Linked DNA regions of Homo sapiens: all the other regions are linked to region 1. The links are contacts of gene promoters, found by promoter capture Hi-C in blood cells and fetal thymus (Javierre and others, 2016). All regions are on one chromosome and are shown on one strand. Each heading gives the region's core, a stretch centred on a gene start or on the middle of the fragment in contact. The rest is flanking DNA. Distances are from core to core; before and after follow the strand shown.

The links. The method cuts DNA at HindIII sites, captures the fragments that hold promoters and counts their contacts. A CHiCAGO score of 5 or more calls a contact.
Region 2: a fragment that was not itself captured here is called in contact with the fragment with the promoter of PDZD2 in region 1 in 1 of 17 cell types (megakaryocytes); the score reaches 5.0 in megakaryocytes.
Region 3: a fragment that was not itself captured here is called in contact with the fragment with the promoter of PDZD2 in region 1 in 6 of 17 cell types (megakaryocytes, M1 macrophages, erythroblasts and 3 more); the score reaches 10.2 in megakaryocytes.

Annotation. Positions count from the first base shown.
Region 1 is chr5:31,636,779-31,641,636 of GRCh38, reverse strand. PDZD2 (PDZ domain containing 2) reads right to left here and starts at 2,506. Exons shown (of 25, transcript NM_178140.4): 1 at 2,200-2,506. RefSeq lists a silencer at 2,203-2,552. The HindIII fragment of the contact is 6,072 bases long and covers 1-4,454 here.
Region 2 is chr5:31,844,371-31,849,228 of GRCh38, reverse strand. The region is part of intron 2 of PDZD2 (PDZ domain containing 2); the gene reads right to left. It also overlaps the pseudogene RPL5P14. Among named protein-coding and RNA genes, the nearest start is that of MIR4279, 89 kb to the left of the region's middle. The HindIII fragment of the contact is 3,699 bases long and covers 1,113-4,811 here.
Region 3 is chr5:31,823,258-31,828,115 of GRCh38, reverse strand. The region is part of intron 2 of PDZD2 (PDZ domain containing 2); the gene reads right to left. It overlaps LOC124901200 (small nucleolar RNA U13), which reads right to left and starts at 3,537; the gene lies at 3,434-3,537. The HindIII fragment of the contact is 1,196 bases long and covers 2,180-3,375 here.

The DNA of each region.
Region 1 (4,858 bases), core at 1,257-3,756:
ACACCTGTGATCCCAGTTACTCAGGAGGCTGAGGTGGGAGGATTGCTTGAGTCTGGGCAACAATGAGACCCAGTCTCAAAAAAAAAAAATATCTCACACATCTCCCTACTATCTGGAGAACTAAGTTCCTCTGAGTCCTTAGTTCCTCTGAGTCCTTAGTTCCTCTGAGTCCTTAGCACTGAGTCCTAACTCAGGATCAACCTCTCGACTTCTACCTAAGAGCTCCTCCACAAAGCCTTTCAGATCCTCTCTGGCAAAAGTGACTTCTTTTTCCTCCATACTCCCAAAATGTTTTATTTGGACCACTCTTCAGGTACTTTACTCACTTAATTATCTCTTCACTCCTTCATCCAATAAACACATGGCGTCTACTACATGCAGCATGTGCACTGGTCTGCACCATAGTGCTTAGCAGGCTTCTCTCCCTTCTCCTGCTGGACAGAAACTGACAAACTGACAGCAGCGAGGGAGCATCTTTCATCTAAGCATATCCTGGAACCTCGAAGCCTCCTCAGCCTCCAGCACAGCAAACCACAGGTATTCCAAAAATAAAATGATTGAAATGAACAGAGAAATTATCATAAGTTTCCTTAAATAGTAAACTGCCATAAAGTACATGCAAAATCAATTTCAGCGATAGATTTAAAGTATAATTCAATATTTTTCCAGGAGCATATTAACTATGTCAAGGTAGGTACATTTATATACTTTACATGGTTCTGATTTTTCCTCTCCTAGCACCTGCCACCCCCCTACTCCTACACCTAACCCCCGCAACACACACACTCACTCACACAACTAGGTGGTTATTATAGGAGCAGAAGCTCTGGGCCCATCCTAATGGAAGAAGGAATTCATGAAGCCAGAACCACCACCTACAGCCAGGGGTGTGTTCTGAGACATTCTCTTCTGCCCCCACAAGCAGCACTCCCACTTCACACCTGCCAACCTGTACCTATCTGGCCACCACCCAGAAGTCACAACCCACAAAAGCTGGCCCAGTAGAGATGCCAGGCCCCTAAAGCCCTCCAGTGTTCAGAGACCCCACTGGAGAACAGGCCCTGAAGGTCCAGGGGGTCTCTCTGCAAGGACAGATCAGGGCATCACTTACTGCAGCCACTCAGCAACCACTTCCAGTAGTTTCATTGCGATTTGTCAAGGCAAACATATCCACCTACCCTACCTTTGGTGGAGGCAAGAGGTTAGGCCAGCTGCAGGGGACAGACTCAGACTCAGCTCCATCCCCCAACACTGCCCAACGGCCAGTCCCAGGGCAGGTCTGGAGCTCTGGAATGCCCTCGTGCCTGCCATTCCAGTCTCTGCGACCAGCCCATGCCAGACCTTGTCCTCTTCCCACTCCAGTGTCCCTTATCAAGGTCTCTGCATAGATTTGGGCTGCCGAGGACAGCTTCTGGCAAACTCCTGCCAGGGGTCCTGGACCCTCCTGCTGCTGAATTCAGCCTTGCGCTTTAATGGATTTTCCAAATAGCGGGGACCACAGGCAGCTCAAAGACTTAAAACACAAACGCAAACCCGAGGGAGGGAGAGAGGAACAGAGGGAGGGAGAAACCAGATTTTAGGAGAAACTCGACTTCAGAGAGAGAGCAGGATTTCCCTATCACTATGTTCCCCATCTCCCCGGCAGACGCCAATAACCGGCCCTAAGATGCCCTTGATCTTTGCGCGCCCCCTGCATTCCCTCGCCCCGCGTCTAACGTCTCATCTGGGCAAAGAGGCGGGGGTTGAGAGATGAAACAAGCCCGAGGGAGGATGGTCCCCAAGACATTACCTGAGGCCGGAGTACCTGAGTACCTCCACTCCTGTCGGAGGAAGGGACCAGAAGACGGCCCAGGGATGGGGACCCGGGATGCGCGCCCGAGCAGGAGGTCCCGGCCCTGTCTTGAGTACCCCCGGCAGTGCGTCTCCGGTTGTCCCGCTGTCTCGGTCCCGCTCTGTCTAGCCCCCTCCCCTGGGCTGCGCCCTCCCCGTCCCCGGCCGGATGCTAGAGGAGTTTGCGCCGCCCAACGTGGGACCCCGGTTCGGCGTCCTCACTCCCCGCCCTGCCAGGGCTGGGATTCCCGCACCCGGATTTGTAGCTAAACTTTCCTGGGCACACACGGTCTCGGGGGTGCCGGGCCTCCCCCATCCCCTGCCCACCCGGAGCCGCGCGTCCCGGCTGCAGCGGGACGGTCGCTTCACCTGCTCGCGGCTTGGCCGAGGCTCCCGCGGCTTCCTCGCGCGTCCAGACCCAGGCGCCGCCCGGCGGGTCCCCGCGCAGCTGCCGCCACCGCGGCCACCACCGGTGCCGCCGCCGCGCCTGCCCCGAGCTGCAGAGCCGCGGTTCGCCGGCAGCCGCGGGAGGCGCAATCCCGGTGCCTTGGGTTCGGCCTGCGGCTCCTCGGCTGCCTGCAGCCGCCGCCCCGCCGCGTCCCGCTGCCCGGGGCCGGCACGCACCGGCGCTGGGGTCCGCTCCTCGCCTCGCTGCGCAGGGGATCCGCCGAGCCTCCAGGATGGGCGGGGATTCCCTCCCCCTGGTTGATTCGAGGGGCGGGAACTCCCTTCCCCGAGTGACAGGGACGGGGGGCGGGGATTCCCCTGCAGGAATAACAAGGTGGGCGGGGATTTCCCCGAGCGAGCCCCGCCGCGGGCAAGGCGTCTCTCTGGGTGAGCCAGGAGTCCTGGTGCGCCCGCTTCAGAAACCTGGGGATCGTGGGAGGAAGGCATCCAGGGAGATGGCTGCTCCGAATCTCCATACAGGCGGGGCTTAGGGCGCCATCTAGGTGGAACAGAGCGAGCTAGGGGACGTGAAGTTGCCTCTGCATAGCACTTTACACAGCAAAGAGAAAAATGTCAGTTACCTTATCAAAGAATGGGGCGGAGGGGCCACAGGAGATGGGGGAAGAGCTAACCACTCACCCCAAGCTACCCTTAGCCTCTGGTCCTTGGGATACCAAAGGTAATTTAGCACTGGTACGAGGATTTCGGGGAGAGGGGACCTCTTGGCACCTCAGAGCTGCTTAATCCCCCAGTTAAGCCCCTGGGGGGGAATCCCATGGCCCTGGGGTGGTGGTTTTGGTCCCATGAGCACTAGCCACGAGCTCCTGCCGAGTGGACTGTGAGAGCTAATGCCAGCCGCCCTTGGCTCCCGTCCAGGTCACTCGAGGAACCGAGCCTCAGGCTTTTGGGATCCTTCATTCCGGTGGATTTTCAGGAAGGCCTTCAAATATTTTTGGTTCTTTTTTTGTCATCCTTGTCATTCTGCCTACCAAAGGGAGAGGATGATAAGAACATAATAGGAAGACTGCACAGCTCTGCAAATTAAGCTCTCTTAAGAGGAAAAAGCTGGTCTTTTTCAAGTGCTGGCAGATAAGAGTAAAAACATATGAAAAATTGCAAAACCTGGGATAATGAATAGTTGAATAATGCTTTTGACATTTTCTACAGAACAGTAATTGGAAATCTTTGCTTTCGGGGGGATGGGGATGGGACAGGGCAGGCCCCAGCTGCAGTTCTGCCCAGCAAGGCAATAAACTCTGGCCTCTCCGAAAAGCAGGCAGACATAAATCACCTGCGCAGACCGGACAGCGCTGTCCCACCACACCAGAGACCAGAGTGGGCCCAAGGCATTTGGAGGTGGTATTGTCCTCAGGGGCTGGGGTGGAGAAGTTCTTGATTTCAGCTGTTCTTCAGCTTTTATAATTACCAGGCCATTGAGATCAATGCTTGCACAAATCCAAGCATCGTATATGACAAGCTGGGCACTCAGGCACTCAGAGCTTCTCTTCCTATGTGTAAATAGAGAAAACACCTACCATGCAGGATTGCTGGAACTAGCAGTAACACAGCTATTCAGCACAGCACTTAGGAGGTGCTCAATGAAATGGTAACCATTATCAATGAAAGGTATCATTGGGACACTACAAAAAAATCCTTCTAGAAGGATCAAACAGGGCTGGTGCTTTCTGTTTTTTCCACAATCCCAGGCCCATCTTCCACCACTCTGTCCCGTGTTTTCTCAGCCTCTGTACCCAGCACATACCTTGGGCCTACCTCCCTCAGCACCAATGAAAAGTTTGCTGAATCAATGAATATGCAAATAAATGTATCACTCAAACTGTAGTCACTGCTATTTCTTATCCACTCCATCCCCAACTCTTTCATTCCAGCCATGTACTCCTAATCTGTAAATTCTGTTTCCTCTGCCAGAGTGACATTCTCACTCTCCTGTGTCTGCTGAAATCCCAAGGAGGTAAATGTCATCTCTACTGGAAAGGCTTCTCTGATCATCAGAACAAACATCACGTTTCCTCTGCCTTGTTAATTGCTGCAATGGTAGCACTTTATGCAAATTGCTCATCTAACCCTTGTCAGGTGTATTATGTTGTAGGAATTATGGCGTTTTGTCTCACATATTTCTAGCTTGTGAGTTCTTGGAGGTAAGAGAACTTAAAGCTTATTGTTTGTGTTCCCAAAGCCTAGGGTGGCATGGTGTCCGACCCAATAGCCACTCAATAAATATTTGCTGAATTAAAATGAATTGTTAGGTATATACATGTATGTTATATGTGGCATATATTATGTATAAATACAATATATACAGATGTATTTTATAATCTGTCTCCTTCAGACATGGCCCTGCTGACCTGCTTTAAATACTTCGTTTCAATCACTTTTCAGCTGATATTTTCCAGATATTTTTGGCAAGTTCTTATCTGCTAATAATAGCTCAATTCACAGAGGTCAATCAAATGCATGGAAATTTTGTTTTGCCCTTGCAGTCTTGTCAATTTGGAAAGCTGACAACTGAGGGCATTTATTTTCCAATGTTTGAAGATCAAAATGTAAATCCTTTTTGCCC
Region 2 (4,858 bases), core at 1,713-4,212, 210 kb before region 1:
CTGCCTCTTATCATTAGGTATTTTTAGCTATTCAGAGGGAGGAAACACTGCAAAAAGAAGCATTCATGCTTATTGGCCAAACTGACTGAAAAGCAAGCTGTACACAGGTTTACATTGCCTGGGGAAATAATCATCTTTTCCCAGCAAAACAGAGGAAAGGAAGGACCAAGTTCATTTTCTGAGATGGAGTCTCGCTCTGTCGCCCAGGCTGGAGTGCAGTGGCAAGATCTCGGCTCACTGCAAGCTCCACCTCCTGGGTTCACGCCATTCTCCTGCCTCAGCCTCCCTAGTACCTGGGACTACAGGCGCCTGCCACCACGCCTGGCTAATTTTTTGTATTTTTAGTAGAGACGGGGTTTCACCGTGTTAGCCAGGATGTTCTCAATCTCCTGATCTCGTGATCTGCCCACCTAGACCTCCCAAAGTGCTGGGATTACAGGTGTGAGCCACCGTGCCCGGCCCATTTTCTTTTTTCTTTTTTTTTGACAGTCTCACTCTGTCGCCCAGGCTGGAGTGCAATGGCACGATCTTGGCTCACTGCAACCTCTGCCTCCCGGGTTCAAGCAATTCTCCTGCCACAGCCTCCTGAGTAGCTGGGATTACAGGTGCCCACCACCACACCTGGCTGGTTTTTGTATTTTTAGTAGAGACGGGGTTTCACCATGTTGGCCAGGCTGGTCTCAAACTCCTGACCTCAGGTGATCTGCCCACCTCAGCCTCCCAAAGTGCTGGGATTACAGGCGTGAGCCACGGCGCCAGGCCCCAAGTTCACTTTCTGATAGGGAGGGTGCATTGCTATCTCCCACAAAGCTGAAGAATTCAAATCAAGGTTCACCTTTATACATTTAATTATTCAGCTGTAATCTAACTTTGCATATAGTAGGTTTGACTGTGGAATGAATGAATACAAATGCTTCTTGACTGTGATGCCTTAAGACACATGAACTGAAATGAGGTTTTCCAGCATGGTGGTCAAGGCTCTGGTCGGTCATTTCCTGTTTCCTTTTCTTCAGCTGCTTAGTAAATAAGTTGATTGTCTTTATCTGAAAAATCTTCATAGAAAATTGTTTGGTTTAGGTCTTAGTAGCCCGCTCCTGAGCTCTGAGGAAGCTTGCCTACTTTTGAGCTACCTGATCTTTCTTCTGGGCAAGGGACATTTTGGGATAGTTCCACCTCTGCTTTTCAACTTCTTTCTTAGGCTTCTTCTCATAGATTGGATTCTCTTGCATAGCAGCATGAGCCTTCTTATACATCCCCATCATGTCTGGAGTTATGCTGTTCTTTATGTATTGAGAGAATGGTTTCTGGTAAGCATCTTCATCTTCCATTAGGTAACGCATGTAATCTGCAACATTCTGACACGTGATGTGCTTCCAATGCATTAACTTCTGCATTAAGTTCCTTGCTTTCAGAATCATAACCAGGGAATCGTCTGGTACTGCAAGGGATAGACAAGCCTCCATTCACAGCTTCCTTCAGGGCCTCCAAAACTGTATTGTCAGTGGTAGTTCTGGCAAGGCCTGCATCCAAATAGCAGGTAAAGGCACCGGGCTGGCCATCAATGCTTTCCACATTGTATTCATCTCCAGTCACCACCACTTGGCATTCCTAGATCTTGCCCATGCCAAACCTACTGAAAAGCCTCCGAGCCAGCAGCAGGCCAGTACAATATGCTGCAGCAGAATTTGTCAGCCAACCTTCACACCAAATTTTGGCAGTGTGTGCATAAGCTGTGCAGACTATCATATCCCCTTCTACATGGGCATACGCAATCTGACAAATGATATCTCTGTTACGCGAACTCTCATCCTGTATTTGGGTGTGTTGTACTTATTTTTATCCTCTATCACCAAGCGTTTCTTAGCATAGTAATCGGTTTTACCCTCTTGTCGTCTTCTAAATTTCATTTTGTATCTTTTAAAGTAGGCCTTATTCCTGACAACTTTAACAAACCCCACCCTACAGAACAGAGACTCATGTCACAGCTCAGCACAGACCTCTGGCTTGTCATTTCTGTGGGCTTCTTATCAGATGTCCCCAAAGAGCCTTACAATAATCCAATGTTTCCTTCAATTCAGTATCTATGAGACAGCATATGGATGGGTCACATATTTCCCCAATGTCAACTACTTTTAGATCAAGACAAGATTTTTAACGAGGTTTATTGAGTGCTGTTGTATATCAACAATAGATGATTCATGAGTGAAACAGACAGCAAAATGATTTTTAGAAAGGCAAGTGAACCAGACACAAACAAAAAATAAAAAGCCTTGATCCAAATTACTCTAAAGGACAGATATTTTCCCATTAGGACAATTTATCCTAAATCTGTAAACAGAGAGGGGCATAATTATACAAGTGTTTGCTAACAGATCTAAACCTTATGCAGCTGTAAAAAGCTGAAGAAAGGAAGAAAGCGGAAATTCCCAGGAGAAGATCCCCGACCACATCCAGGGCCACCAGCTCTCCACAAACACAAGGCCCAGCAGTGGCACCAAGCAAAGCATGAGAAGAAACCTCAGGATTCTGACACAATCCACAAATATAACTTTGAATTGTCCTGAAACTAAACAATGACAATTCTATCCAATCAACTTTCAGCTGACACACAGACGGGGTGGTGACTTATTGGTGTTCCAGATGTAGTTAATGGAAACATGATGCCCAGAATTAAAAAGGTATTCAGTAAATGTTGATTGAATGGATGGATGAGTGAATGACGTCTGAACAGATGCCCATGTCTCTTTCCCTCTTCGCAGCTCTGTTGGGAAGATGTCCTCAATGCTTCAAACCTGGCCAGGCGTGGTGGCTCACGCCTCTAATCCCAGCACTTTGGGAGGCCGAGGTGGGCAGATCACCTGAAGTCAGGAGTTCAAGACCAGCCTGGCCAACATGGTGAAACCTTGTCTCTACTAAAAATACAAAAAATTAGCTGGGTGCAGTGGTGCACGCCTGTAATCCCAGCTACTCGGGAGGCTGAGGCAGGAGAATCACTTGAACCCGGGATGCGGAGGTTGCAGTGAGGCGAGATTGCGCCACTGCACTCAAGCCTGGGCAACAGAGTGAGACTCCGTCTCAAAGAAAAAAACCAACCAACCAAACAAACAAAATGCTTCAAACCCAAAGCCACCACAGAGGGGCTGAACCATTTGACATAGTTCCCCAGGAACAGAACAGTTCATGGAACCGGAGAATGGTTTCTGATCCAAAGATATACTAATTTGTGATCTTCCAGTGCACACAGGAAGGGGGATTGTGGTGCCTCTGGAACATCTTTGCAGGTCTTGATTCAAAAGCTGCCATTATTTACAATATAGATTCTAAACTCTATTTGAAGTCCAACAGAACCAAGTACTAAGTAGCTAGCATGTATTGAACACATACAGGATGCCAAGACCTGTTGTAAGCCTTTTATGTATTAGGTCATTAAATCCCTATTACAATCTTAGAATATGTACTATTATTACAGCAACCCATTTTACAGGCAATGAAACTGGACAAGATTATCTAAGTAGCTCATGGTCACACAACTAATAAGTAGAGGAGCTGGATCTGAGAGTCTACCTGGAACCAGTGCTTACTCTTAATTGCTACCCAATGCTATCTGTCCGGATCTTACTTCCTGCCACTTCTCTGCACAAACTCACTGTTTGCCCACAAATATGCAAAGAACATTCTAATCTGTGCAGGACACGTTCCCTGACTTCCCTCCCACTGTTAGCTCTCTCTTCTGAGTGCTCACATCACTCATTCTCCAGGGAACACACTGAAACTTACTTGGTTCACATCACACCTCTCCAGATAGCTCTGAAGTTCCTTTGGTGTTGGAACTGTGTGTTATATGGCAGTGTGGAGACGTAGTGGAATAAGAAAGACCTAGGTTTAAAGTTCAAATCCCATAATGATTATCCGTGAGATTCTGGGTAAGTCATTTGACATTTCCTGTCCTTATATTTAAACCGTCTACCTTAAAGGCTTGTTGAGGAGGAGAGGCTGAGTGTCTAGGATGATGCCTGATATTGTAAGCCAGTGATTCTCAATCAGGTATTTTACACACCCTTCCCCTATCCCCGCAGGGACATTTGGCAATGTCTGGAGATGTTTGATAGTCCGATTGCTTACTGGCATCTGACGGAGAGAGAGAAAGAATTCTTCTCATCTCCCATTCTTCTGACGTGGTAACAATATCTTCTTCCATTTCTACCTTTCACAGTCTCGAAAACATGAATAATTTGTGCTCAGTTGTATATGATAAAAGAAACTTGTTTCTTGTTTAAAGAAACTTGTTCCCACTCACAGAGGTCTTCTGCTTTGACCTATCCCTGAGAACTGGGCATTGGGCAACGTAAACTCAGAAGCAGAAAATCAATTACAGCCATTGCTCACCTCTAGGCGGGGCCCACACCCAGCCCTGCCAGATGGTTTTATAATAGTGAGTGCTGTGTTACCATGAAGGGCCTTCTATAAAGGAGAGTTGAAGCTGGATAGTATCCCAGAGACTGTTCCTTTCCCCAGCAAACCTTCATCTAGCAGGGGCTGGTGCCTTTCCTTACACAGGTTTATACTAACACTGCCAGATAAAATATAGGCGACCCAGTTAAATTTGAATCACAGATGAAAAATGAGTAATTATTTTACTCTAAGTAGATCCCAAAAATCACATGGAATTTTTCATTTGCTAAATCTGACAATCTTATTTTATAACAACCAAGTCCTTACCACTTGGTCTTGACAAAAATCATTTCTATACTCAGTAATACGTAAATATATGGAAAACAAAACATATGCACATTGTTAAAAATCGAGAAGCTTGAAGATATTCCTTTATGGTCTCTGTTTCTCACTCTGATGGACATCT
Region 3 (4,858 bases), core at 1,528-4,027, 190 kb before region 1:
TGACCCAAATGTCCACAAATGGATGGATGGTTAAACAAATGTGGTTAAACATATGGAATACTATTTGGCAATATAACAAAGTAAAGTTCTGAATCATACTGAAACACAGATGAGCACTGAAGTCATTACACTTTCAGTACAGAAGACCATGTACTGAAATATCTGGAATAGGTAAATCTATAGGAACAGAAAGTAGGTTTCCAGGGGCTTGGAGAAGCGGAGTATGGAGAATCCCTGTAATAGGTATGTGTCTTCTTTTTGGAAGGATAAAAACGTCCTAAAATTAGATATTGGTGATATTCAATGCTGTGAATCTATAAAACCACTCAATTGTACATTTTAAAGGATAAATTTTATAGTAGGTGAACATCTCAGTAAAGCCATTTTAAAATTATTTTTATTTTTTTATTTATTTATTTTTTTTGAGACAGAGTCTTGCTCTATCACCCAGGCTGGAGTGCAGTGGCGTGATCTCAGCTCACTGCAACCTCTGCCTCTCAGTTCAAGCAATTCTCCTGCCTCAGCCTCCTGAGTAGCTGAGATTACAGGCGCATGCCACCATACCCAGCTAATTTTTGTATTTTTAGTAGAGACGGGGTGTTACCATGTTGGCCAGGCTAGTCTCGAACTCCTGATCTCAAGTGATCCACCCACCTCAGCCTCCCAAGGTGTTGGGATTACAGGCATGAGCCACCACACCCAGCCTCAGGAAAGCTATTATATAACAAGAAAGCTTACTTTAAAAATTCCTTCATATCGTTATTAATCACAATTACGCCTACAAGGATAAGTCAGTTTTCCAAGGCACGGATAAAGGCCCCAGAAAACCAGGGACTTTATATGTTTTATAGAAGAGTATTTCCCCAATATGCAGTTCCAGAGCTGAAACAGTAGGTGGTCAGTAAATATCCTTAAATGAATAAATATAGATTAAGAAAGTGTTCAGAACCCAGATTTTCTGATTCCCGGTTCACCCCTCCATAGTGGGGAAGTGGCAAGACAGTGACCTCATGAATAAAGAGCAAGGTTCCCTGGCCAGGATGCCACTTACAGAATTGTTGCTGCCTACAGGAAGGTTACGCTCCTTTCTGGGGAATGGACGTGCTGTCTATAGGGACAGACACACTATTTGGCATATGGGTAGCAATTGACAGAGCATCCCAGCAAAAAAAGACTCAGGTCTTGGAGGCAGGTCACCCCGGCTCGATTCCAGGCTCTGTCTCTTAATAGATGGGTTTATCCAATCTTTCTCAGCCTATATTTCCTCATCTGTGAATGCAGGTAATAATACTCGCCTCTTACCTCATAGGGATGTTGTAAGAAGTAAATGAGAAGCATATACCTAATGCATGTGGCTCATTTGGGTAATATCTGATAAATGTTTTAATTTACATTGATAATATCGAATAAACAGGTTTCATATATCTTTTTTTTTTTTTTGAGACAGAGTCTTGTTCTGTCACCCGGGCTGGAGTGCAGTGGCGTGATCTCGGCTCACTGCAACCTCTGCCTTCCGAGTTCAAGTGATTCTCCTGCCTCAGCCTCCCAAGTAGCTGGGAATACAGGTGCGTGCCACCACAGCTGGCTAATTTTTTTTGTATTTTTAGTAGAGACAGGGTTTCACCATGTTGGTCAGGCTGGTCTTGAACTCCTGACCTCAAATGATCCACCCGCCTCGGCTTCCCAAAGTGCTGAGATTACAGACATGAACCACCGTGGCTGGCCTCAAATATCTTGTAAAAAATAAAAGGGAGACAGGTCAGTGGTTGTTTTCAGACTTTGCAGGGAACTGTTACCTGAAAAGGTTTGGAGCCTCACTCCTACCCTCCCCACCACGGTGGCATTGAGCAAGGTAGAGAACAAAAACTTCTTCCCTGTGGAGCAGCTCCCACTCCCTAGCAGCCCACAGCCGGGCATGAAACCAACACGATTATCTTGGGGGCATGGATAAAAGGCAGGAGACAGGAAACATTTTGCCTCACCTTGAGAGAGAAGAGGGACCCAGATATTTATACCCCCGTACCAAATATCTTTTCCCCTCTGTGTTGCAATGGTGCTACATTTGTTGTTTTTCTAATTAAAAAGGAGTACATTGAGGGGCAACTGAACTTGAACTGGTTCGCATCAGGAGCTGTAAACTCAGTCTTCCTGTTCATTAAAAGAGGAAAAAAAAAAAGCTTTCCTTTTGCTTGACACCTGTTAATAGCATGCCTGTGGAAACAAGTAACCATGCTCGAAAACAATCTCCAATTGCTGGATGGAAACAGCCGTTGTGATTGTTTAAGATACAATATACGTAAAGCAAGCAGCACCGTGGTTAGCATGTTGTTGGTACTCAGGAAATGGTAACTATTATTTCAAACACCTTTTCCTTAAATGCTCTGCTGGTGTAGTGCTCACTACCGTGGAATAAACTTAACTGAATAGTGCCCTCCAGAGGCCACTGGGAATTCAACTGTGCTGACAGTTGAAAAAAGGTCTGGAAAAAGACTACAAATACCATTTAATTGTCTTGTACATTGATGTGGAGTCAGCACCAGAGCCCGGTGTCCCAGGATGTATTAGAACATGACCGACTGTCTGATTTGTCACCCACAGCAGCCTTTCTTTGGCTAGGGCTTATTTGTTTGCAAAGGACACTTATGAGGACATGGAGATCTTGGGGAAACAAGTCCAGCTAGGCACTGTGGGAACTGGTGCTGGAAACTGCCAGCCCCTGGAAGGTACTGTCCCATCCCTTTTTCTGGGGACACTGTCTTTCATCCCTGTCCTTTTCTGCATGTCCACTCTGTGTTCCTCTAAAGAAACCAGCTTCCTCTTGACGTCTGCCATTCTGTAACTGTAGTACGGGCATGTGGCTCTGACTCTTTCTGGACATGAATCCAGATGTGGTTCCGTTTGGTGTTCCAGCTCATCCCACACAGCAAAGCAGCGTGGTCTCTCACTGGCTTGATTCCAGATTTTCAGGAGATTAAACTGGTTGTCAGTCAAGTCTAATGGCTGGGTTTAGTCTATCTATCCCTGGTGGGTGGCCAGGAGGTGGAGGTGGGGATGCGTGGGCGTGTGTAGGGAGACAGGGCCAGTGTCATGTGATACTAAACAAATTTAGCACATATGGAACTGCAGGAAGGGCGAGCATGTCAAAGGGTCTGTTTTTCTACAAACACGGAGCTAGTATTAATAGAGCTTTACCATGTGCCATGCACTGTCCTAAGAACTTTCTAAGCATCATTTCATTTAATCCTAAAAACCTCCTATGATATTTGATCCTGCAATCGTTCCCTCTGAAGTAACTGCTGATAACAATGTTTGTGTATCTTTCCATAATTTTCCTAACGCATTTTATTCCCATTTTAAAATGAGGGAACTAAAGCTTAGAAAGTTTAAGCCAAGATTTAAGCCAAGACAGTCTGATTCTTTTTTTTTTTTTTCAGGTTAGACAGGTAATGCACTGACATTGCAACAAGGTTTGAGGGTGGCACATCTCACACACGGCCGTGAACACCCAGTCATCATACTCACGAACTACAAAAGGATCAAGGCAGGCTGATTCTAAAGCCAGGATGTTAAACACTCACCCCACCTTCCTCCCAGTGTAGCCCCTATGGCATGGTAGATAATTTGGCTATGCAGAAAAAACATCAAATTTGGTCTGGTTCTCAGGGAGGTTATAATCTGGTTAAGGAAGGCAAGATTTATACATGCAAAACAATGAGTAAATGACAGGAGAGGGATCAAGTACTAAATTGCATGTTGCCATTATATTTGTTTTCTATTGCTACGTAACAAATTACCACAAATGTAGAAGCTTTGGAGCAATACCCATTTATTAGCTCACGGTTCTGTAGGTAAGAATACAGCTATGGCATGGCTGGGCTTGTGTTGACTGGAGCTGCCAACAATCTCATCTGGGGCTCAGGGACCTTTTTGAAGGAGTTAAAATATGCTATCCTGGAATACTGATTATTTAAGTTAAAGGCACTTGAAAAACAGCAGGTGCAAAAAGATCACTTTGACCTTCATGCTGTTTCTTAAAATCAGAAGATTAAATTCCCATGTGAAAGACGCCCTCCCTATACTAGTAAGATGCAACATCCTTGCCATCAAGGACGAGAAAGTTGAGGTCAAGGAAATTCTGTACAAACAAGCCTTTCTCTTCCTAGCTATTTTCCTACCCTATTTACTATCCTAGTGCAAGCCCCTTCGCCTTACACATGTTCACAGTTTACTATTGCGTCCAATCCAGAATGGAAGAAACTGACAATAACTGCTTCTTTGGGTCTTCATTATTTTAGGAGGACTCCTGTAAAACATCTGTAAAGAAATGTGTATGCTTTTTTCCTGTAATCTATCTTATCTCAATTCTCAGGACCGTAAGAGGATGGAGGTGGTTTTCCTGCTCCTATATCTTCCAAGCTCACCGCTTGATGGCAGAGTTCAATTCTTTGTGGTTGTAGGCCTGAGGTATCTTTTTCCTGTGAGTTGCCAATCAGGGACTGCTTTCAGTTCCTAGAGGTTGCACTTCTCCATCTGCAGTTGACAGTGGAGGTTATTTGCTTTCCTCTAGGTCAGCTGGAGTATTTTTCTGAGTGTTACTTCTGTTACCGGCCAAACTTTCTGCTTTGTTTGTTTTGCTTGTTTGTGTTTTGAGACAGAGTCTCACTCTGTCTCCCAGGATGGAGTGCAATGGCGCGATCTTGGCTCACTGCAACCTCCGCCTCCTGGGTCCAAATGATTCTTGTGCCTCAGCCTCCCAAGTAGTTGGGATTACAGGTGCACGCCACCATACCAAGCTAATTTTTTTCTATTTTTAGTAAAGACAGGTTTCACCATGCCTTGGCCCAGCTGGTCTTGATCT